Regions from separate parts of the Homo sapiens genome. Here all the other regions are linked to region 1. The links are contacts of gene promoters, found by promoter capture Hi-C in blood cells and fetal thymus (Javierre and others, 2016). All regions are on one chromosome and are shown on one strand. Each heading gives the region's core, a stretch centred on a gene start or on the middle of the fragment in contact. The rest is flanking DNA. Distances are from core to core; before and after follow the strand shown. Region 1 holds the start of PTPN18 (protein tyrosine phosphatase non-receptor type 18). Region 2 holds the start of UBXN4 (UBX domain protein 4). Region 3 overlaps CLASP1 (cytoplasmic linker associated protein 1). Region 4 holds the start of R3HDM1 (R3H domain containing 1). Region 5 overlaps CLASP1 (cytoplasmic linker associated protein 1). Region 6 holds the start of SPOPL (speckle type BTB/POZ protein like).

Region 1 (3,275 bases), core at 92-2,591:
TGTCACCATATATCAGTTTATGCGTTTGTATGGTATGTTTCTATGTCTGGTACATAAGCGATTACACTTTAAACACGTCATCAACTGTAATGTACAGTGCCTAGCATTCTGCGTGAGCCTTCCTAATGCTGGGCTTGCACTACCTGTATTGTAACGTTTAGATTTTTTGTTTGGTTTTGTTTTGTTTGAGATGGGATCTCACTCTGTGGCCCAGGCTGGAGTGCAGTGGCACCATCTCAGCTGTGCAGTGGAACCATCTCAGCTCACTGCAACCTCTGCCTCCCAGGTTCAAGCGAGTCCCCTGTCTCTGCTCCCTAGTAGCTGGGATTACAGGCATGCGCCCATGCCCAGTTGATTTTTGTATTTTTAGTAGAGACGGGGTTTCGCTGTGTTGCCCAGGCTGGTCTCGAACTCCTGAGCTCAAGCGATCCTCCCACCTCGGCCTCCCAAAGTGCTGGGATTACAGGTGTGAGCCACCGCACCTGGCCCACGTTTAGAATCTTTATAGGCAGTGACGAACGCCCCTACGAAGTGTGCGCCCAATATGTACTAAGTGCTTTTCACCCACATCATTTAATCCTTAGACCAGTTTGGTCATTCATGTCCCCATTTCACCAAGGGAGAAGCCGAGGTCAGAGGGGCCAGGTAGACCGCCTGGACCACACGCGGATGGCCGGGACGCGGATTCGGGACGGGAAGCGGATTCGGGCCCGGACGCGGATTCGAGCCCGGCGTTCACACCCTCACCACGCCACAGCCTCCGTGTTCCTCTTCGCCCTGCTGCAGCCCCTTCCTTCCTGTGGTCACAGGGGACAGTCAGGTCGCCAGAAGCGGCGGGGCCGGGGCTGTCCAGCGCAGCAGGGCCGCCCGCCCTCCCCTGCGGCGCCCGCCCCACCTGTCCCGCCCGCAGCCAGGTTGTTCCGGGAGCGCGACGAGGACACCGGGAACGAGGGTGTGCACGGTCCGTCCCGGCCTGGCCGTGGACGTCGCGCTCCGGGGCCGGGGGGCAGAGAGTGAAGACGGAGACAGCAAGAGCGACAGAGAAGTGCTGGGGAGAGAAACACGGAGAGACCCCCCGAGGCGGGGAGACACCGGGGACACCGAGACAGAAAGGCAGAGCCCGCCGTGCGCGGAGGACAGGCGTACGCAGGGCCAGGGCCGGGGCGCGCCGCTCGCGGACCCCGTGTGCCACTCACGCTGAACTCGCCGGCGAGGACTGCCCCCTCCCGGCCGCCCCGCGCTTCCAGCCGCTCCAGGAAGCTCCGCGCCGAGTCCAGGCTGCGGCTCATGGCGCCGCGGGCCAGCAAGGTCCAGCCCGGCCGCCGCGCGCGCGGCGAGTGTGGACGCCGCGGGAGGCGGAGGCCGGTGACTGAGTCCCCGCCCTTGCCTCGGCAGCCAATGGAAGCGCGCAGCGGCGGGCAGGGCGCCCCAGCCACCGTGTTCTGAGCCCGCGTAGCCCCACCCCGGGCGCTCGGGCCGCTGTGGCCGGAGCCCTAGGTCCTCGCGGGCTGCCCTGAGCAGAGTCCAGCGCCGGCGCTTCCCCTTTTTTTCGGCTGCCGCGCCCACTGGTGGGGGGGTGGCACGGTCCCAGGTTCGCTCCCTGCCGCTTGGGACCCGCCCTCAGATCGGGATCCGCGCCCAGGGGCCGACCTCCGGGTGCCGGCTCTGGGTGGACGGCCGAGCGGTCTCGCCGGGCCCTCCCGCCCGTCCCCTGGGAGCCAGGCCGCGCGGAGTCCGAGCTGGGGCGGGCAGCAGCCTTGGGTGGAGACGGTCGCCGAGATCAGGCTGCCCCTCGTGCCAGAGGACCCCGGGTCGGGGGCGTCCCGCGCTGTGCGCTCCAGCCGGGCCCAAGGGAGGCCGGGGAGGGGCAGCCACGCCGTGGGAAAGGCCAAGTGGCAGCGGGATCTTCTCTGTGTATTTCCCGAGGAATTTGTGGTTCCTTTTTCCCGGATGCGCTGGGGCACCAGGGTCAGTCCTGTGTGAGCATCTCGACCTGCACAAGCCTGCTGGGAAACAGAACTGAGGCACTGGAAGTGGGTTCTGGGGAACGAAGAGCTTCTCTTTTTTGCCTGCCCTGACACTCCCATCTTCAGAAAGTGTGCAGAGGTCAGAGGAGAGCCGCCGTTCCAGCTTCCGGGATCACCGAGGGGAGGCTGGAGAGAATGGACTGGCACCTGGGTCTCTTCAAGGACAGGCCTAGGTTAGCCCCCTTCTCGCCGAGGTCGGAAGAATTAAGAGGGGTGTCACTGGAAGGGGCGTCAGTGGACACCAGTTTGAGGTCGTTGAGGGGTTGAAAGGTAGCATTGGGGCCTGGATGTGTGCCTGAGTCTCTGAAGGGTCAACAGGGGCATGATGTCAGGTGGTCAATTTAATTCACTAGGGGCTATCAGAGTATTTAAGGGCACACTTTCTTAAAGGTCCCGGTAGGAAGTGGTTTTGGCTTTGCTATCGCTGCCCCAGCTGCTTAACTCAGCTGTGGCAGCATGAAAGCAGACAATATAGTGTGGCTGTGTCCCAAAGAAACCATTTATGGACAAAGAAATCAGAATTTCATGTAATGTTCATGTGTCATGAATTATTCTAGTGTGTGTGTGTGGCCTACAGGCTGTCGTTTGCTGACCTTGGCTGAAGTGATGGAGCGATCAAAGTGGCTCTGTGGGGATCAGCAGCTAGGGCTGTTTGATTTATCGTGGGGTCCGCAGGGGTCACTGTGAGATTCATGTTCATCATTTATCAGTTTCATCTTTGAGCATTCTCAGGGAGGTAATTGTTTAGGATGGTGGTGATAGGGAATTCATTGGAAGCCAGTCGGGGTCCCTTGGATGTTCATGGGGGGGGGGGTGTCAGTAGATATTAATGACAGTCATTGGGAGGCCAGTGGATACTTGGGACAAGAAGTGAAAGTAATTGTGGGGCCATTGGGATTTGGAGTGTTAGTAATTGAAGGGTCCGAAGAGTCTGGGAAGTCATTGAGAGCTCTGCTCAGTGCATGATAGTGACTCTCAGTATAATCATTGAGGGTTTGTGGATGGCCATGGAGATCCAGGGAGGTAGAATACAGAAGCATCAGTAAGCTTTCAGAAAATAAAGACATTTTCTGGGAAAATGTGAGCCCCTGAGCACACATGGTTATTCAGGGCAGTCTTTATGGGCTAGAGGATCTCTGTCCAGCAGCAGGGATCCTGTTGAGGGCCTGTCCTCATAGGCTGAGGTCTGTCTGACTGGTGGAGGGCATGTCGTCCAGCTGAAGGTCTGGTTGACTAGGTGGGTGGGGT
Region 2 (3,212 bases), core at 543-3,042, 5.4 Mb before region 1:
ACCAATTTACAAATTGTTCAGTTTTTTCCTTAAGAAACAAAAAAGCCAGTTTTTTTGAAGCTACTAAAAAATTTGACTGTTAAGACATGTAAATCCTTTTTGTGGCCCTAGTGCAAGTCACTTTATGACTGCTGACCTAAGTGCCTCATCTATAAAATGGGGATAATTAAACCTGTTCTATTTACTGCAAGGATCAACTGAGATATTAGGAGAAAAACAATTTAAAATGTCAAAAACCTACTAATGTACACAATAAGCATAGTGTCATTTACTTTTCCTTTCATTTTCAATCCATTTTTTTCCTTACGGGATTACAGAATTAATTTATGTAAAGTATAATATAACCCCCAGACAGCATCACAGAATCTAAACTATTCAAGCTCTTCTAATAAACAGCATTGAGCTAAAAACTTGGCGTAACAAAACAATTATAAATTCCAAATTTAATGCTAAATGACATTCACATTTCAGTAATTCGTTCTTCACTGCAGTGCATAAAGTTATAGAGCTATTAAAAGACGAGTTAATTATGAATAAACCGTTATTAAACACAAATAGTTGAAGAAATACACCTCAAATTAACAACAGCCACAAACATTGATTTGGTCCATGTAATGAGTATGAGCAGAACCGTAGAGGCAGGGAGTTCACTGTAAATCTACAAGATTTCAGTAATAAAACAGGAGAATATGGAGCAAAATAGCCTAGAGCAACAGAGAATATATGAGTTAATAAACGTTCTCAAAGTCGTGTAGATTTTAGCCTAAGAAGACAACAAAGGGAAGAAACCAAGGACTGAACGTCTATTTTCTTTGAAACTAATGGATTTTTTTTAAACTTACATTATTTCACACTAGATCCCCTACCAAGACTGCCATAAAGAAAAATTAAACCTCTATTCAGCTCAAAAGTTTACGTTTCAGGAACGTACTAACACCAGTAACCGTGAACATCAGGTGGTTTCTCTTTGTTGCTTATCGATGACACAGCTTTCTTCCCGACAGTCCACAACTAATTACAACCCAACTGCTTGCCTAATGGCCCGTTCCTACCTCCATCTAAACAGCAGTAACGAAACGGGCGTTCAAGCAGCACAAAGAGGGTCCTTGGTGACAGAGAGGGACGTCAGGGAGAGGGTCGCGGGGGTCTGGCTGCGCAGGGGAGAGGCTCGGGGCGACGAGCGGGGCTGGGCGGCTGGGGCCTGCTGGCCGCGTCCGTCGCCCCGAGCGGGGAGATTTCGGCGGGCCTCGGGGCGCTTTGGAGACCAGGGCCAGACGGTGCCTCCGGCCCGGCTGCCGGGAGACGCAGCGGTGGGGCCAGGCCCACTGTATCTCAAACGAACCGGGGAGGCGCTGAACAGCCACGGGCCGGCAGCCCGGGCCTCGCAGACACTGAGGAAAGGCTGGGGGCGCCCGGGGCCTGAAGGAGCAGGGCGCTGAGGGTCTGCATGGCCCCTCTGGGGGATCTGGCGGCGGAGTCGCAGCCGTCCCTGGGGCGCGGGGTAGTAGTGGCAATTGTGCGAGCCGACAGGAGCCCGCGTCTCGGGGAGGGCGGGCCGGCGGCTGAGGTATACAAGAGGATGAAGGTAGGCCGGAGGGGTGTCCCGGCCGCCTCTCGAACCCCTGCCTCCTTCACCTGCCACGAACACCACGAAGACCGCGCCGCTCCTTTTGGCCGTCGCGATGGCGGCCGGAATGGCGCCCTGGAACCACAGCATCGCTCCCTTCGGGCCCAGGCGCTCGCTCGGTGTGTAGTCTCCGCAGTCCCGAAGCCGGCTCCGCCCTCCGTCTTCGTCCGGCTCTGCGGCCCCCGCAACCTTGGCTGGTTCGGCCCCCACCTCCGGCTCCGCACAAGCGCGCACGCCCGTCAGCGGCACCCGGAGACGCGCGCTAGCGCGCGCGAGAACACCTCACGTCACAGTCGCAACCCGTCGGTGTCCGTGCCCCAGGACCTTCTCTCGTTGGCGAGTCGATGGTGCGGGCGCGCGCCCGCTAGGCCTCCGGTCGCGCAGTCCAGGAAGTGGAGGAAAGCGGTAAGAGGGATGACTAACCGCTAAGACACGTCGGCGGCGCCTGCAGTGAGGCATGATGGGAATTGTAGTCCACTTAGGCTTATTCGCCTCCATATTGTGGAGCATGTAACTGTGGGTTCTGAGGCACAGCTAAAGGGGGCAGTAGTGAGGGCCACTACACATTCTATAAAGGGGAGAGGGAGAAATAAGTGTCACTCCAACTGGCATATGCTATTCTCGGCCTCGTTGAGACTCTCAGTGTGGAGGAAATAGTCCTCGCATGGAACTAAATGGGCTTTGTCGGGATTAACTCCGAGGCTTTGATTTCTTCTGAACGTAGCCCAACCTTGCAGAAAAACGGGATAAAAACCGCAAGTCACCTTCTTTAATAACCTGTAGTCCATGTGCCTAAGCGGAGGAATTGGTAGAACGCAGGCCTTCAGCAATTTCCTAGACACTGGATAGAGATCATTTCAAAACTTCAAAACGCGTTAGGCTATTGCCACAGCTACTTTTTAAAGTAACACAAAGCAGAGAATAGATTATTTCTTTTCCAGCTACTTTCCATGGTAATACAAAAGAGACTAGATAGTGATTTATTTTCCAATTTTCTGGGAGAATGTCCTATAATCAAGATGTGGCGCTTTGTGATTGGCTGCCATTAAATGAAAACTGATCCATATTTAATACTTTCATGAAATCACATGGTCTGTAATAACTATTAGCTAAAGGCTTGCATGGTTTATTTAAAGTTGCATATACTATTATGTTAAATTCTACATCAATTAAATTTATCCTCCAGCAGTACATCTATCTGACAATCTTTGCAAGATAAAGGAAGTGATACATCTGAATATACCACCTTTCCTACAGATATTTTCCCTAAAAATAGCTAATTATTTGCACTCCGATTTTTGTACTTTTTTTCCCAATCAGGCCTCTCGTATATAGTGTTATTATAAACTGAGACATAATGCTGATTAGGGACAGTTGCTTCTATAGGACAACAATCCTACAGAAAAATTAGAATTGACCTTTAACATCAACTTTAATGGACTTCTGGAAATTTGATCAATCTAGAAATTATTCCAATAGAGCTATGTCTTTAATTATCTCTAATTTTAGAATTAAATAAGAATCCTTCATAGTTTTATATTCATTTGTCAAGTGTTTATCACTCATCTTTTATGAGCTAGGCATT
Region 3 (3,266 bases), core at 521-3,020, 8.8 Mb after region 1:
TTTGACTACTCTAGGTGTTTCATGTAAGTGGAACCAGACAATATTTGTCTTTGTGACTGGCTTACTTTATTCCACATAATGCCTTCAAGGTTCATCCATGTTGTAGTGTTTCAGAAAAGGCCTAAAGTTCCATTGTATGGGTAGACCAGGAGACTCCATTTTGTATATCCATTCATCTGTCAATCAACACTTCAGTTGTTTCCACCTTTTTACTCCTGTAGATAATGATGCTGTGAATATGGGTTTACAACTGTCTTTGGAAACTCTGCTTTTACTTCTTTTGGGTATATGCCCAGAAATGGAATTGCTGGAATCATATGGTAATATTATTTTTAATCTTTTTTTTTTTTTTTTTTTTTTTTCAGACAGTCTTGCTCTGTCGCCCAGGCTGGAGTGCAGTGGCACAATCTCGGCTCACTGCAAGCTCCGCCTCCCAGGTTCATGCGATTCTCCTGCCTCAGCCTCCCGAGTAGCTGGGACTACAGGTGCCCGTCACAACGCCCGGCTAATTTTTTGTATTTTTACTAGAGACGGGGTTTCACTGTGTTAGCCAGGATGGTCTCGATCTCCTGACTTCGTGATCTGCCCACCTCGGCCTCCCAAAGTGCTGGGATTACAGGCGTGAGCCACTGTGCCCAGCCCTAATCTTTTTTGAGGAACTGCTATAACCATTTTCCACAACAACTCTACCATTTTACACTTCACCAGCAGTATACAAGAGTTCCAGTTTCTCTACATCTTTACCAACAGTATTTATTTTTTATTTTTTAATAAAATAGGGCTGGGTGCAGTGGCTCATGCCTGTAATCCCAGCACTCTGGGAGGCCAACACAGTCGGATCGCTTGAGTCCAGAAGTTCAAGACCAGCCTGGGCAACATGGCAAAACCTCTCCTCTACAAAAGCTCAAAAAATTAGCTGGGTGGTGTGTTGGCACGCGCCTGTAGTCCCAGCTACTGGGGAGGGGGCAGGTTGCTGAGGCGGGAGGATCACTTGAAGCTGGGAGATGGAGGTTGCAGTGAGCCGAAATCACGCAACTACACTCCAGCCTGGGTGACAGAGCATGATCCTATCTCCAAAAAAAAAAAAAATTCTAATGAATGTCAGCCGTTACTTTTTACCTATTGTCTCTCATTTCTTCTTTTTAAATTCCATTTAAACTTGATGTTTTCTCTCTATTCTCTCTTGCCTATTCTTTTGAATATTCCATCTTTTTGCTTCTCTTTACTTTATTCTGGATTTTTTCTGCAGACTTAGTTTCCTGTTTAGTTCTCTTCATGTATTTACAGTGCACTTAGGAAAAAGAGCCCATGCATTGAGTATTTAATTTTCTCTTGTATTATTTGTTTAACCTATGTAACTTTAAAAGTTGTCATTTCTCTACCCAAAACTTTAATCATGTGTTTTTTCTTCTTAGACATAATAAGACTGGTTATTTAATTTAATTAATTTATTTATTGAGACAAGGTGTCTCTCTGTCACCCAGGCTGGAGTGCAGTGGCACGATCTCCACTCGCTGCAACTTCCGCCTCCCAGGCTCAAGTGATCCTCCCACCTCAGCCTCCCGAGCAGAGCAGCTGGGACCACAGGTGCATGCCACCACGCCCAGCTAAGTTTTGTATTTTTTCGTAGAGGTGGCATTTCGCCACGTTGCCCAGGCTAGTCTTGAACTCCTAAGCTAAGGCAATCCGCCTGCCTCTGCCTGCCTTGGCCTCCCAAAGTGCTGGGATTACAGGCGTGAGACACCACACTCGGCCTGACTTGTTATTTTAAAGTCCGTTTGCAATTATTCTCCTATCCAGGGACCCAGAGTCCAGGTTGGTCTTTGTTTCTGCTAGTTTTCACTTTGTCCTGTGTGACTGGTTATCTTTGGTTGTGTTTCAGATGTTCTCTTTGAAAAATTGTTACAGGAATAGGCCAGGCACAATGGCTCAACGTCAGTAATCCCAGCACTTTGGGAGCTGAGGCAGGCAGATTGCTTGAGGTCAGGAGTTCAAGAACAGTCTGTCCAACATGATAAAACCCCGTCTCTACTAAAAATACAAAAATTAGCTGGGCTGATAACACGTCCCAGCTACTTGGGAGGCTGAAGCACGAGAATCTCTTGAACCCGGGAGGCGGAGGTTGCAGTGAGCAGAGATCGTGCCATTGCACTCCAGCCTGGGCAACAGAGCGAGACTCTGTCTCAAAAAAACAAACAACAACAACAACAAAAGAAAATTTTTACAGGAATAATCCGAGGACTAGATTATTAGGATGATGTTTTCTTTATCCAGAAATGACTTGTGTTTTTATCTGCTCAGGGCTTTTGGGCACAAACAGTCTAACCTCACTTTAATCTGATGTCAGGGATTAGGATTTTTCTGGGCCACCCAGATGCTTGGAAACTGGGCTGCAGTCCCTGTGAAGGCTGTTTTATTTCCAACTCACTCTCCTCCTAAAGTCTAGCCATTTGGGTTTCCAGCACATGTGGTAGGGGGTTAACTAGGTCACCAACTTTGGAGGGCTTTGGAATCTAACCTTTGCCCTCCTAGATGACCCAAGAGGTTATTAAAAGTGATTCTCTGTGCCCTTTCCCAGTGTATAAATGGCCCCAGGGCAAAGTGAACCAGTTGTTGCAGGCTTATATCTGTAAATTTTGGTTGTCTCTGTTTCTTGACCTGGAAGTTCTTCTGTGCCTTCTTAGTTCTCTGATGCTGCAGGTGTCCTTTTATGTCCAGCATTTTTTAGTTGTGCTCGGCAGGAGTGTTGGTCCCAGTGACCTGGTCAGCCCTCTTCTCTCTTTTACAAAAGAGTCTTTTAAAGGTTTGTAGGATAAAGAAGATGTGTTGGACCTTGAGAACTCATCTATTCCAGTCTCATTCACATCAATACAGTAGGGTTTATTGATCACCTACCGTGTACCCAGCATTGTGCTACTTATTATGGGAATTCTGAGGAAATGCAAGATGATAGTATTCCTTACATTCAAGGAGTGTAGCTGGGGAAACAAGCACAAACGTAGATAATTAAGTAAAATGTCAGAGTCAAGGGTCACGCAGAGTTAATGGTGTTGGAAGAAAAAAATTACAACAAATTTAAAGATTTTGATTGACTTTTATTCGTGACTTTAGAATCAGGTAACACCTCATTCCATAAAACAGAATTGTGTATTCCAGTGAGCCATGCAGAAGAAGTTGGTTTTATAAACCTAAGGGCTGAAGAAAGCAGAAATAGGGGGAAAAAAAAAGTACCCTTACCACGTGCCAGGCACAGTTTACATACACAC
Region 4 (3,219 bases), core at 501-3,000, 5.2 Mb before region 1:
TGGGCTCAAGTGATCCTCTCACCTCACACTCCTGAGTAGCAGGGACTACAGGTGACTACTACATGACTGGCAATTTTCATTTTTTTAATAGATACCACAAATTTCCTCCAGGACCTGAATGTATCTATGTCAATTCTGTAACTAGGTGTACTAGTTATGGAATACAGAAGATCATTAAGCCACCATAGTCTTCTCAAACCCTGAAGAAATGATCAAAACTCAGATGTTTCCTCAGAACCCAAGTTTATTCTGCTAACAAGTAAACCTCAGAAATGGGCCTAGAATTTTATCTCTGATCACAGTTATGTCTACTACAGACTATAGAATCCATGATTTAAAGACATATTCTTCCAGGCATAAAAGCAGAGTGGTATTTGAAAAGACGAGCGTACTCCATCAAAATGTGATGAAGAAATCATAACAGAATGCCCTAAAAATAGCCAAATATGCCAAATTTTTAGAAATTGAGACGTGTCCAATTATTCCTGTCAGACTGGTATCCTATTACTTAGAAGATCTTGTTTCACATATTATAAATGGGTAGACTTTCAGTTTGACTTTAATCATCTTTTCATTTAAAAGTTTTTGTCATCAATGATATTTAAGCTAAAAAAGGTTTCTTACAGTTACAATTAGGTAAACTATAACCATGAAGATATATATATATATATTTAGAAAATTTTATTAGAAAAACCATTTGCTGTTCACTAATCCTAATTTGGAAAGCACCTCTTCTTCACCTTTTACTTAACTATCCCAGGACAATTACACACGGAGCATGATAGTCCCAATAATTTAAGTTTCTTTATAAAAACAAGCTCAACAGAGTCACCCTTTGCACCTAGTCACAGCAACAAAAGAAAACAAAACACCAAAAAACTTCAAAGCCCACAAAGATTTGTTGGCAGCCTAAGGCTCAGGAATCAAAACGTGTGTAAATCTGATCCCGGGGGACCGTGGCACTGACAGTCATTCAACTTTCTTTTTAATATTCCCATTGTGCTTTTTCTGGTACCACAGGGAAAATGTACCTACATTTTACCAACCGGTCGAAGCTGAAAATTCTCTTGGTGCAAGGCCAGGGGATGCGGCCGTGGGGCGGCCGGGGGAGCCCGGGGCACCGGCGCCAGCCACACGAGAGAGCAGTACCACGCTCTTGGCAGGCCTGCTGTGGCTGGCTCCCGAGTCCCTGGGGCTGCAAGAGCAGCCGCGGAGGCAGCAGCAGCAGCCATGGCAGGGACTCGGAAACCTTTCCCCTGCCTCCTCCGCTAGGCCTCGAGGGGTTTGCTTTTCACATGGCCCCCGGGTGGGGGCGGTGGGCACAAGGCAGTGGCTGCAGCTGCAGCCGGAGCCGCAGCCGCGGGCCAGGCGAGCCTGGCTCACTCGGAACCCGACCTAACGGCGGGCTGGCAGCAGCGGGACGTCAGAAGGCCCTGGCTGAAGCGCCGACGACCCGGCGGGGAAGGCCACCTTTCCACACACCACATCTCTCCCCTGCCTGCCTCCTTCTCCGTTAGCGCTACCGGTTGGCGGGCGGGGGAGGGGAGCAAGGCGCGTTATTCCCGGGGAGCTGGACGGGGGAGGGAAGGGCATCTCTTACCCGCGTTACTGAGGAGGAGGAGGCGGTTGGAGCGCGGCGCGGCGGGGCGACGGCGGGGCTGGGTGGGTGCAAGTAAGAGTCTTACGAAAGGGAATTAACCCCATCACCAGCCCGGACACCGGCTCCAGCGGCAGCCGCGGCTGGCAGAATCCCGCCCCTTCCCACCACGCACTAGCCCCGCCTCTTCGTTCTCTTTGAGCGGCAGCCGACTATTCATAGGTTGTACGTCCCCGGAGTGACATGAGTTTTGCCCAATCAAGCTTGAAAAAAACTGTCTTCTCTCCACCCCTTTACCTCCTCCCAGGCCGCGGAGAGCCGTGCCAAATCTTCCTCCAACCTCAAGAGAAAAAGAACCAATCCGTGGTAAGTAACCGCCCTTGAAGGACGCAAAAGCCAACCAATGGTAAAACTAGGAGGACAGCCATTTTGCCCACTTGTAAAAGAGCTACCTTTTCCCACGAGTTGGAGCCTGAGGTGCGGAGTTTCGTGAGTTTTTACTGACTCGAGGTATTTAAAAGACAACCAGATCTCCTCAGTGGGTATTTATAGTGCTTTTTAGGGGTAAAGGAAAATTATCCTCCATGTGGGGCGAAGTGAGGCATGCTGCTTAAGGGGTTGGCTCCTCCCCTTAGCGCTAACGGGTTCTGAAACGAACACCTGGTTTCTCCAGCTTCAGTGGCGGAGGGCGGGGTGATTGCTCTTTTCGGCCTGGAGCGGACTACGATTCCCAACATGCTTTTCCCCTACTCATAACTTCTCCTCCGTTCACTTGTCGCGGTGCTTGGCTGGAATTGTAGTTCCTGAGAGGTACCCATGCCGCCGCTTCAGCCAATGAAAAGGGACAGAGTTTTGAATGACTTGAAATTAGGGCGGAGAACGAGTTGTCGCGAGGCTGTACAGAGCCCTTTTCGCAACCCTAACGGGAGAGAAGTGATGGAAGAAGGGTAGCCGGAAGAGTTTCCTCAAAATACCATAGGGGTTTTAAATTATTAGTACGTATTTAAACTCATCTACTTTCACGTTGTCCCGTTGAACGTCACTTCCGCTTAGGGGCGGACACGTCCCAAACCTGTGGCGGGAGTTGGAGATTCTGCGGCGAATACGCCAGGTGTGACTGGCTGGAAGTGGCGTGGCTGGCAAGTCGCTAGTTTCTTGCATGGGAGATAAAAAGTTGAACGGAATTTAATGGCATTTTAAGAAAGAGTGGGTGACATGGGATGGGGGTAATTTCCAGGGCCCTTATTACTTTCTCCACCCCGGCCTTCAATCGCGGGCGTCTCGGCCTGCTCGCTATTAGATTGCACGGCTAAATTTGTAGAAAGTACCTCTACTGCCTTTAGTCTTCGCGTGGTCAGTTTGAACTGTAAAGACAGGGCTCCGAAGTTCTGAACTACATTTACAGACACACTTTTTTTTTTTTTTTTTGAGACGGAGTCTTGCTCTGTCCCCAGGCTGGAGTGCAGTGGTGGGATCTTGGCTCACTGATTCACGCCATTCTCCTGTCTCAGCCTCCGGAGTAGCTGGGATTACAGGCGCGCGCCACTCAGCCCAGCTAATTTTTTGTATTTTTAGTAGAGACGGGGTTTCACCATGTTGGCCAGGATGGTCTCGATCTCCTG
Region 5 (3,271 bases), core at 395-2,894, 8.7 Mb after region 1:
TGCTGCAAAGAATAATTCTATAATATATTATTTTTGCACATATATGAATAAATTCCCAGAAGTTGACATTTTGGGTTAAAAGTTACGTGCCTTAACATTGCTATAAATAGATATTCCCAGATTATTCACGTTGGAGGTTTTGATGAAATCCAGCCTGCAATACAAGATACATTTTTGTTTGTTTTTTGAGACAAAGCTCTGTCGCCCAGGCTAGAGTACAGTGGCACAATCTCAGCTCACTGCAACCTCTGCCTCCCAGGCTCCAACCATCCTCCCATCTCAGCCTTCCAGGTAGCTGGGACTACAGGTGCATACTACCATGCCTGGCTGATTTTTGTATTTATTTTATTTATTTATTTTATTTTATTTTATTTGTTTTGAGATGGGGTCTTGCTCTGTTGCCTGGGCTGGAGTGCAGTGGCGTGATCTCGGCTCACTACAGCCTCCGCCTCCTGGGTTCAAGCAGTTCTCCCACCTCAGCCTCCCGAGTAGCTGGGATTACATGGGCACGCCACCACGCCCAGCTAATTTTTGCATTTTTACTAGAGACGGGGTTTCACCATGTTGACCAGGCTGGTCTCGAACTGTTGACCTCAGGTGACCCACCCACCTCAGCCTCTCAAAGTGCTGGGATTACAGGTGTGACCCACTGCGCCTGGCCCGATTTTTGTATTTTTTGTAGAGATGGGGTCTCACTATGTTGCCCAGGCTGTTCTCAAACTCATGAGCTCAAGCGATCCTCCCACCTTGGCCTCCCAAAGTGCTGGGATTACAGGTGTGAGCCACTGTGCCTGGCCTGCAATATGTATTTTAAAAATATGTTTAAAAAATGTAATTTCAGGCCGGGCTTGGTGGCTTACGCCTGTAATCCCAGCACTTTGGGAGGTCGAGGTGGGCAGATCACGAGGTCAAGAGATCGAGACCATCCTGGTCAACATGGTGAAACCTCGTCTTTACTAAAAATACAAAAATTAGCTGGGCCTGGTGGTGTGTGCCTGTAGTCCCAGCTATTCGGGAGGCTGAGGCAGGAGAATTGCTTGAATCTAGGAGGCGGAAGTTGCAGTGAGCCAAGATCGTACCAGTGCACTCCAGCATGGTGACAGAGCGAGACTCCATTTCAAAAAAAAAAAAAAAAAAAGTAATTTTAAAATGGCGTAGAAACATGTCATGTGTCATTTTTTGAATTAAAATATGACTATAGTTCAGTGATCAAAAGCAAATTGAGCACTTTTCTTCTCATTTCTTTTTTTTTTTTTTTTTTTTTTTTGAGCTGGAGTCTCGCTTTGTCACCCAGGCTGGAGCGTAATGGCGCAATCTCGGCTCACTGCAACCTCCACCTCCCGGGTTCATGCCATTCTCCTGCCTCAGTCTCCCGAGTAGCTGGGACTATGGGCGCCTGCCACCACACCCGGCTAATTTTTTGTATTTTTAGTAGAGATGGGGTTTCACCATGTTAGCCAGGATGGTCTTGATCTCCTGACCTTGTGATCCACCCACCTCGGCCTCCCAAAGTGCTGGGATTACAGGCGTGAGCCACTGCGCCCGGCCTCTTTTTTTTTTTTTTTGAGACGTAGTTTCGCTCTTGTTGTCCAGGCTGGAGTGCAATGGCTAGATCTTGGCTCACTGCAACCTCTGCTGGGTTCAAGCGATTCTCCTGCCTCAGCCTTTTGAGTAGCTGGGATTACAGGCATCCACCACCATGCCCGGCTAATTTTTTTATTTTCAGTAGAGACAGAGTTTTGCCATGTTGGCCAGGCTGGTCTCAAACTCCTGACCTCAGGCAATCCACCCACCTTGGCCTCCCAAAGTGCTGGGATTATAGGCGTGAGCCACCATGCCCGGCCTCTTCTCATTTCTTGTTTGCTTTTCTCTTTTGACTTGGCAAGAATTTTGTGACTGGACGAGGCAGGAATAAGTTTTGTTTCCTTGTAGATGTTACCAATACTGCCTTCTAGAGATGGGTACTAGATACAGAAGATTTACTGAATAATTGCTTCTGCGTGTGTGTGTGTGTGTGTGTGTGTGTGTGTGTGTGTGTGTGTGTTTCTTTCCAATATGGTGATCTACCAAACTTTCTGTAGTTTTCAATACTTGTAGTAATGGATGATGATTGTGATATCAGGATTACAATTTGATTTAACTTTAAAAACAACTTTCTGGAATTTATTGGATAGAGTATGATTTAACTAGAAAGAATAGGAATAGAGGCTGGGCGTGGTGGCTCACGCCTGTAATCCCAGCAGTTTGGGAGGCGGAGGCGGGTGGATCGCTTGAGGTCAGGAGTTTGAGACCAGCCTGGCCAACATGGTGAAATCCTGTCTCTACTAAAAATGTAAAGTTAGCTGGGCATGGTAGTGCACACCTGTAATCCCAGCTACTCAGGAGGCTGAGGCAGGAGAATAGCTTGAACCTGGGAGGCGAAGGTTGCAGTGAGCGAAGATTGCATCACTGCAGTCCAGCCTGGGTGACAGAGCAAGACTCCATCTCAATAAAAAAAGGGAAAACATAGTATTAACATTTTAGTGTGTTCCCTTCCATACGTTTTCTATGCAAGATGCATATAAAAAAAAGTTTTTATTTTATAAACAAAAATGGCATCATTTTTGTTTTCTAGTTTGCTTTTTTATTTTTTTTGAGATGGAGTTTCGCTCTTGTCGCCCAGGCTAGAGTGCAGTGGTGTGATCTTGGCTCACTGCAACCTCTGTCTCCCAGGTTCAAGTGATTCTCCTGCCTCAGTCTCTCAAGTACGTGGGATTACAGGTGCCTGCCACCATGCCCAGCTAATTTTTGTATTTTTAGTAGACATGGGGTTTCACCATGTTGGCCAGGCTGGTCTCAAATTCCTGACCTCAGGTGATCCACTGGCTTCGGCCTCCCAAAGTGCTGGGATTACCGGCGTGAGCCACCGCTCCCGGCCTAGTTTGCTTTTCTAATTGTTTTCTAGTTTGCTTTTTTCACTAAAATGATTGCAGATACCTTTAAAGTCCAATAAGAACAGATTTATTTATTTATTTTTTATTTTTTATATATTTTTTTGAGATGGAGTCTCGCTTTATCACCCAGGCTGGAGTGCAGTGGTGCGATCTCAGATCACTGCAAGCTCCGCCTCCCGGATTCATGCCATTCTCCCACCTCAGCCTCCCAAGTAGCTGGGACTGCAGGTGCCTGCCACCATGCCAGGCTAATTTTTTGTATTTTTAGTAGAGACGGGGTTTCACCGTGTTAGCCAGGATGGTCTTGATCTCCTGACCTCATGATCTGCCCGTCTTGG
Region 6 (3,645 bases), core at 348-2,847, 8.1 Mb before region 1:
GTGCAATTACTAGCACCATCCTGTGATGTCATATCATAACCCCATTTTACAGCTGTAAGTATACTGAGGCGAAGAAATATTAAGTAACTTCCCCAAAGCCAAAGCTGGTAGATGGCAGAGCAAGGGTTTACACCCTGGCAACTATATACTAGTCTGAGCTCTAGAGAAGAGTTCTTAACCACTAGGCAACATTTCTCACAAGAATGATGAAATGGTAATTTGAAATATTCCACCAATCTCATCGTGGCAGGAGAGATGTAATTTTTCAAGGTATGAACCTTTTACCTCTGTCAGTTTCTAGTCCAAGAAACAGTGGATTCAATTGCAAGTGGGAAAGTGAGTACCACAATGGGTCAAACTAGGCCCAAGATTATTCAAAAATAGACAAAGCATCAGAAGCCTGGAAAGAATCACTGAATGACAGAGTTCAGTCAGGAAAGAGACAAGCGAAAGTTAGGATAAGCAGATGGTGAATCTTATTTCTACTGGGTTGTGTGACTGCTTTGAGAGAGAAAATGCTACCTTCCCTTTTCTTTTATGTTGAATCAATATACAAATACATTGACTCAAAAAGAATTAGGAAAAAGGAGAGCAGCAGGAATACAAGTGGGCTCTTTGAAGACTTGGACCCCGAACCGCGCGGTTAGCTTGATGTACTCTGGTATAAGTGAGCAAAAATGTATTAGAAAGCAGGTTAAAGAGAGGTTAAAGGCATGACCACCGGACTGGAGGTAGTGAGCGGTCTGCGAAGCTGAGAACTCTGCCTAAAATGGGCTAACAGGGACGAGAGTTTCAAGTGTCTGTATTTGGGATGAGGAGGTATGAAAGTGGACGCTGCGCGGTGGCAGAGCATGCAGTTTCTGCCTTTGGGCAGCACTCAGGTAAAAAGGGGCAGGTGTGGAGGTATACAGGTATAGAGGAGGAGAGAAGCCAGAGGAAAAGAAGGGGCGAGGCCCGGGGGTAAAACTAAAGGGGATCCTGGAAGGTGGAGGCTGGGAAATCAAGGAGGGATTGGGGGCAACCCCGGGGAAAGTGGTGCCGCCGCGCGAGGGAAGGGCGGTCCGGGGGCGTGGGAGGTAGTCCCCAGAGCAGGCCGGAGCTCGCCGCCCGAGCAGGGGTCCGGGACCCAGAGAGCAGAGGGCGCAGTGAGGCGCGAGCAGGAGGCCGCCGGTCTACGGAGAGCCGGGGGAGGGGAGCAAGCGCCTGGGGCTGCCGCGGGGACTGGGGGGAGGGGAAGGGGCGCCTACCTGGACGTGCTGGGCGGCAGCGGTCAGTCCTGGTGGAGACTCCTCTCCCGCTGAGGCGGTGGCCGTGTCCGCCCTGGGAGCCCGAGGCTGCGGTGGTGGCAGCAGGGGTGATGGCGGCAAGTCCCTGTGGCGGCCGCCTCCGCCGAACCGCATCCCTCCTCCCCGACCCGCCCTCCTTCCCTATCTCCCGCTCCTAAACTTCTTCCCCGGGATAAACAAACCCGCCGCCAGGGGCGGCCACCTCCGCCACTCCCGCCCCCGCGCAGCCCCCACCCCCCCGCCGCGGGCCCGTCTGGGCTCCGGCTTCCGAGTTACGACTCCAGCCCCGGCTCCAGCCCGCGAGGGCGCGTGCGCGCGGCGGCGGCGGCGGCGGCTCCTGGGCCCTTGCTCCCTCCTACAGCGCCGGGCACTTCCGGGCGGGCCCGGATTTGCCGCCGCGCTTGGGAAGCCGCCACCGCCGCCGCTGCTGCATGGCACTAGGCTCCCGGCGGGGCAGGTTCCGCAGCCGGCACCGCTCTGGCTAGGCGCACGGAGGCGCCTTGCTTAGTCTGACCCTTATTTGGCCAGGCGTAAAACTTGTCCTGCCTAAAAGCCTACTGAGACCTCCTAACTGGTCTAATCCGCGGGAGACGCCAAAGGCGGCGGCCGTTTGTGCGCACAGGATTTTTCTTGGAGCTGTAGCAGTCTAGGAAGCCAGGGTGGAACTTTTGCTAAGCTCCCGTTGTAAGCCCAGAGCTGTAATAACTGCTGAGACACAACCAGCAGTATACAGGCTCCAGTTGGAAATCGAGAACTTTCCAGGTAGATGAAGTGCCCCATGGAGCAGTTTTCAGGTGGAGGGGATGAGGCTCAGCTGGAAGTCTCAGGCCAGAAGGAGAGGCTGCCGAGGGGCGGCCAGGGATGCCTAGGAAGTGAGCGCAGAAGACCAGGCGGCCTCCTGGGACCGCACGGTGGGAAATAAAGCTGCACCTGCACAAATGTGTGAAGAGAGGATGGGATTGCCTTGTCTCTTCGGACATTTAGTTTAAAAAGGGGGTGACAACTGAACTTTTTATTCCCCACGGCCATGGGACAAAGATACTTAATCGAGCTACCAGGAGTAAACTTCTTTAAAGAAGTTTGGGGGACCAACAATCCCGGCTTTGCCAGAACAGACATGAACGTCATTCAAGGATCCCAACTCTTTTTGCTTTAACTGTGCATACGTCAGCAATTTTTGTTTTGTTTTGTTTTTGACAGGGCTGTCACCCAGGCTGGAGTGCAGTGGTGCCATCACAGCTCACTGCAGCCTCGACCTCCTAGGCTAAAGTGATCCTCCCAACTCAGCCTCCCGTAGCTGGGACTACAGGAATGTGCCACGCCCAGGTAATCTTAATTTTTTGTGGAGACGAGGTCTTGCTATGTGGCCCAAGCAGATCTCGAACTCCTGAGCTCAAGGGATCCTCCCACCTTGGTCTCCCAAAGTGCTGGGATTTGCAGGCGTGAACCACCACACCTGGCCATAAACCAACTTCTCATTGCTTACCTGGCTTTCCAAGAAAAGAGAGAGGGCAGAGGGAAAATATTTATTATTTTGCTATGTACTGAGTATTCTAAGCATGGACTTGTATCGTCTCTGTTCTCTCAACAACCTCTCTAAAACTTCAACGTAGAAATTTCCATCTTAAAATTAAGCGACAAGAACTAGAAATGGCAAGTAATTCATCCAGAGGTTACTGGGATTTGAATACTGGACAGGCAGATCCCCCTCATTTCAAATTAATACTACATTAGCTGTCTTTTTTATTTCTTTTTTCTTTTTGTTTGTTTGAGACAGGATCTCGCTTTGTACGCCAGGCTGGAGTGCAGTGGCGCGATCCTGGGTCACCTCCCAGATTCAAGCAATTCTGTGCCTCAGCCACCAAGTATCTGGGACTACAGGCGTGAGCCCGGCTAATTTTTGTATTTTTAGTAGAAACAGAGTCTCACCATATTGCCCAGGCTGGGCTCAAACTCCTGGCCTCAAGTGATCCTCCCACTTCTGCCTCCCAAAATGCTGGGATTAGCACCTGACCTTACGTTAGCAATCCTGTTGACTTATTTAAGACAAAACGTGCTTTAAGACAAAATCTGTGCCAAAGGTTTTCAGATAAAGATAAAATTAGCAATGTAACCATAAAATTCAAAGTTGCCTTGGGCTGAGTTGGTAGAATGTTTATGCAGATCAAGGAACTCCAAAAGTTAAAAAACAGAAGTGGAAGTGAGCATTAGGGAATGGGGAAAGAGTTGGTGGAGAGAGGAAATATTTGTGTAAACATTTAACCATCTCCAAACACCAGCAAAGAACAGTTGAAACGATTTGCTATACTCACTGTCCACCCGTGTTAACTTTATGGTATGTGACATACAGCAAAAATTA

What was found. The method cuts DNA at HindIII sites, captures the fragments that hold promoters and counts their contacts. A CHiCAGO score of 5 or more calls a contact.
Region 2: a contact is called between the fragment with the promoter of UBXN4 here and the fragment with the promoter of PTPN18 in region 1, in 1 of 17 cell types (neutrophils). The highest score is 8.8, in neutrophils.
Region 3: a contact is called between a fragment that was not itself captured here and the fragment with the promoter of PTPN18 in region 1, in 1 of 17 cell types (total B cells). The highest score is 5.7, in total B cells.
Region 4: the fragment with the promoter of R3HDM1 here is called in contact with the fragment with the promoter of PTPN18 in region 1 in 2 of 17 cell types (neutrophils and activated CD4 T cells); the score reaches 6.1 in neutrophils.
Region 5: a fragment that was not itself captured here is called in contact with the fragment with the promoter of PTPN18 in region 1 in 1 of 17 cell types (neutrophils); the score reaches 6.6 in neutrophils.
Region 6: a contact is called between the fragment with the promoter of SPOPL here and the fragment with the promoter of PTPN18 in region 1, in 2 of 17 cell types (neutrophils and monocytes). The highest score is 10.0, in neutrophils.

Annotation. Positions count from the first base shown.
Region 1 is chr2:130,354,122-130,357,396 of GRCh38, reverse strand. PTPN18 (protein tyrosine phosphatase non-receptor type 18) reads right to left here and starts at 1,341. Exons shown (of 15, transcript NM_014369.4): 1 at 1,197-1,341. The coding sequence starts at 1,289. RefSeq lists silencers at 902-951, 1,092-1,761. The HindIII fragment of the contact is 15,291 bases long and covers 1-3,076 here.
Region 2 is chr2:135,740,435-135,743,646 of GRCh38, reverse strand. It overlaps UBXN4 (UBX domain protein 4), which reads right to left and starts at 1,792. Exons shown (of 13, transcript NM_014607.4): 1 at 1,636-1,792. The coding sequence starts at 1,717. It overlaps LOC107985946 (a long non-coding RNA gene), which reads left to right and starts at 1,003. Exons shown (of 1, transcript NR_163478.1): 1 at 1,003-2,818. RefSeq lists a silencer at 1,205-1,254 and enhancers at 551-1,326, 1,655-1,714, 2,045-2,174. The HindIII fragment of the contact is 10,462 bases long and covers 1-3,212 here.
Region 3 is chr2:121,533,475-121,536,740 of GRCh38, reverse strand. All of the region lies in intron 2 of CLASP1 (cytoplasmic linker associated protein 1), which reads left to right. CLASP1-AS1 (CLASP1 antisense RNA 1) reads right to left here. Exons shown (of 2, transcript XR_001739683.2): 2 at 3,075-3,266. Among named protein-coding and RNA genes, the nearest start is that of RNU4ATAC, 4.2 kb to the right of the region's middle. The HindIII fragment of the contact is 4,052 bases long and covers 1-3,266 here.
Region 4 is chr2:135,530,015-135,533,233 of GRCh38, reverse strand. R3HDM1 (R3H domain containing 1) reads right to left here and starts at 1,750. Exons shown (of 27, transcript NM_001378107.1): 1 at 1,601-1,750. ZRANB3 (zinc finger RANBP2-type containing 3) reads left to right here and starts at 2,016. Exons shown (of 21, transcript NM_032143.4): 1 at 2,016-2,107. RefSeq lists a silencer at 1,584-1,773 and enhancers at 1,741-2,035, 2,004-2,273, 2,624-2,703. The HindIII fragment of the contact is 3,394 bases long and covers 1-1,862 here.
Region 5 is chr2:121,629,155-121,632,425 of GRCh38, reverse strand. All of the region lies in intron 1 of CLASP1 (cytoplasmic linker associated protein 1), which reads left to right. Among named protein-coding and RNA genes, the nearest start is that of CLASP1, 19 kb to the left of the region's middle. The HindIII fragment of the contact is 7,742 bases long and covers 1-3,271 here.
Region 6 is chr2:138,499,722-138,503,366 of GRCh38, reverse strand. It overlaps SPOPL (speckle type BTB/POZ protein like), which reads right to left and starts at 1,597. Exons shown (of 11, transcript NM_001001664.3): 1 at 1,248-1,597. SPOPL-DT (SPOPL divergent transcript) reads left to right here and starts at 1,672. Exons shown (of 2, transcript NR_187149.1): 1 at 1,672-2,048; 2 at 2,487-3,645. RefSeq lists silencers at 912-961, 1,162-1,701. The HindIII fragment of the contact is 5,215 bases long and covers 1-3,645 here.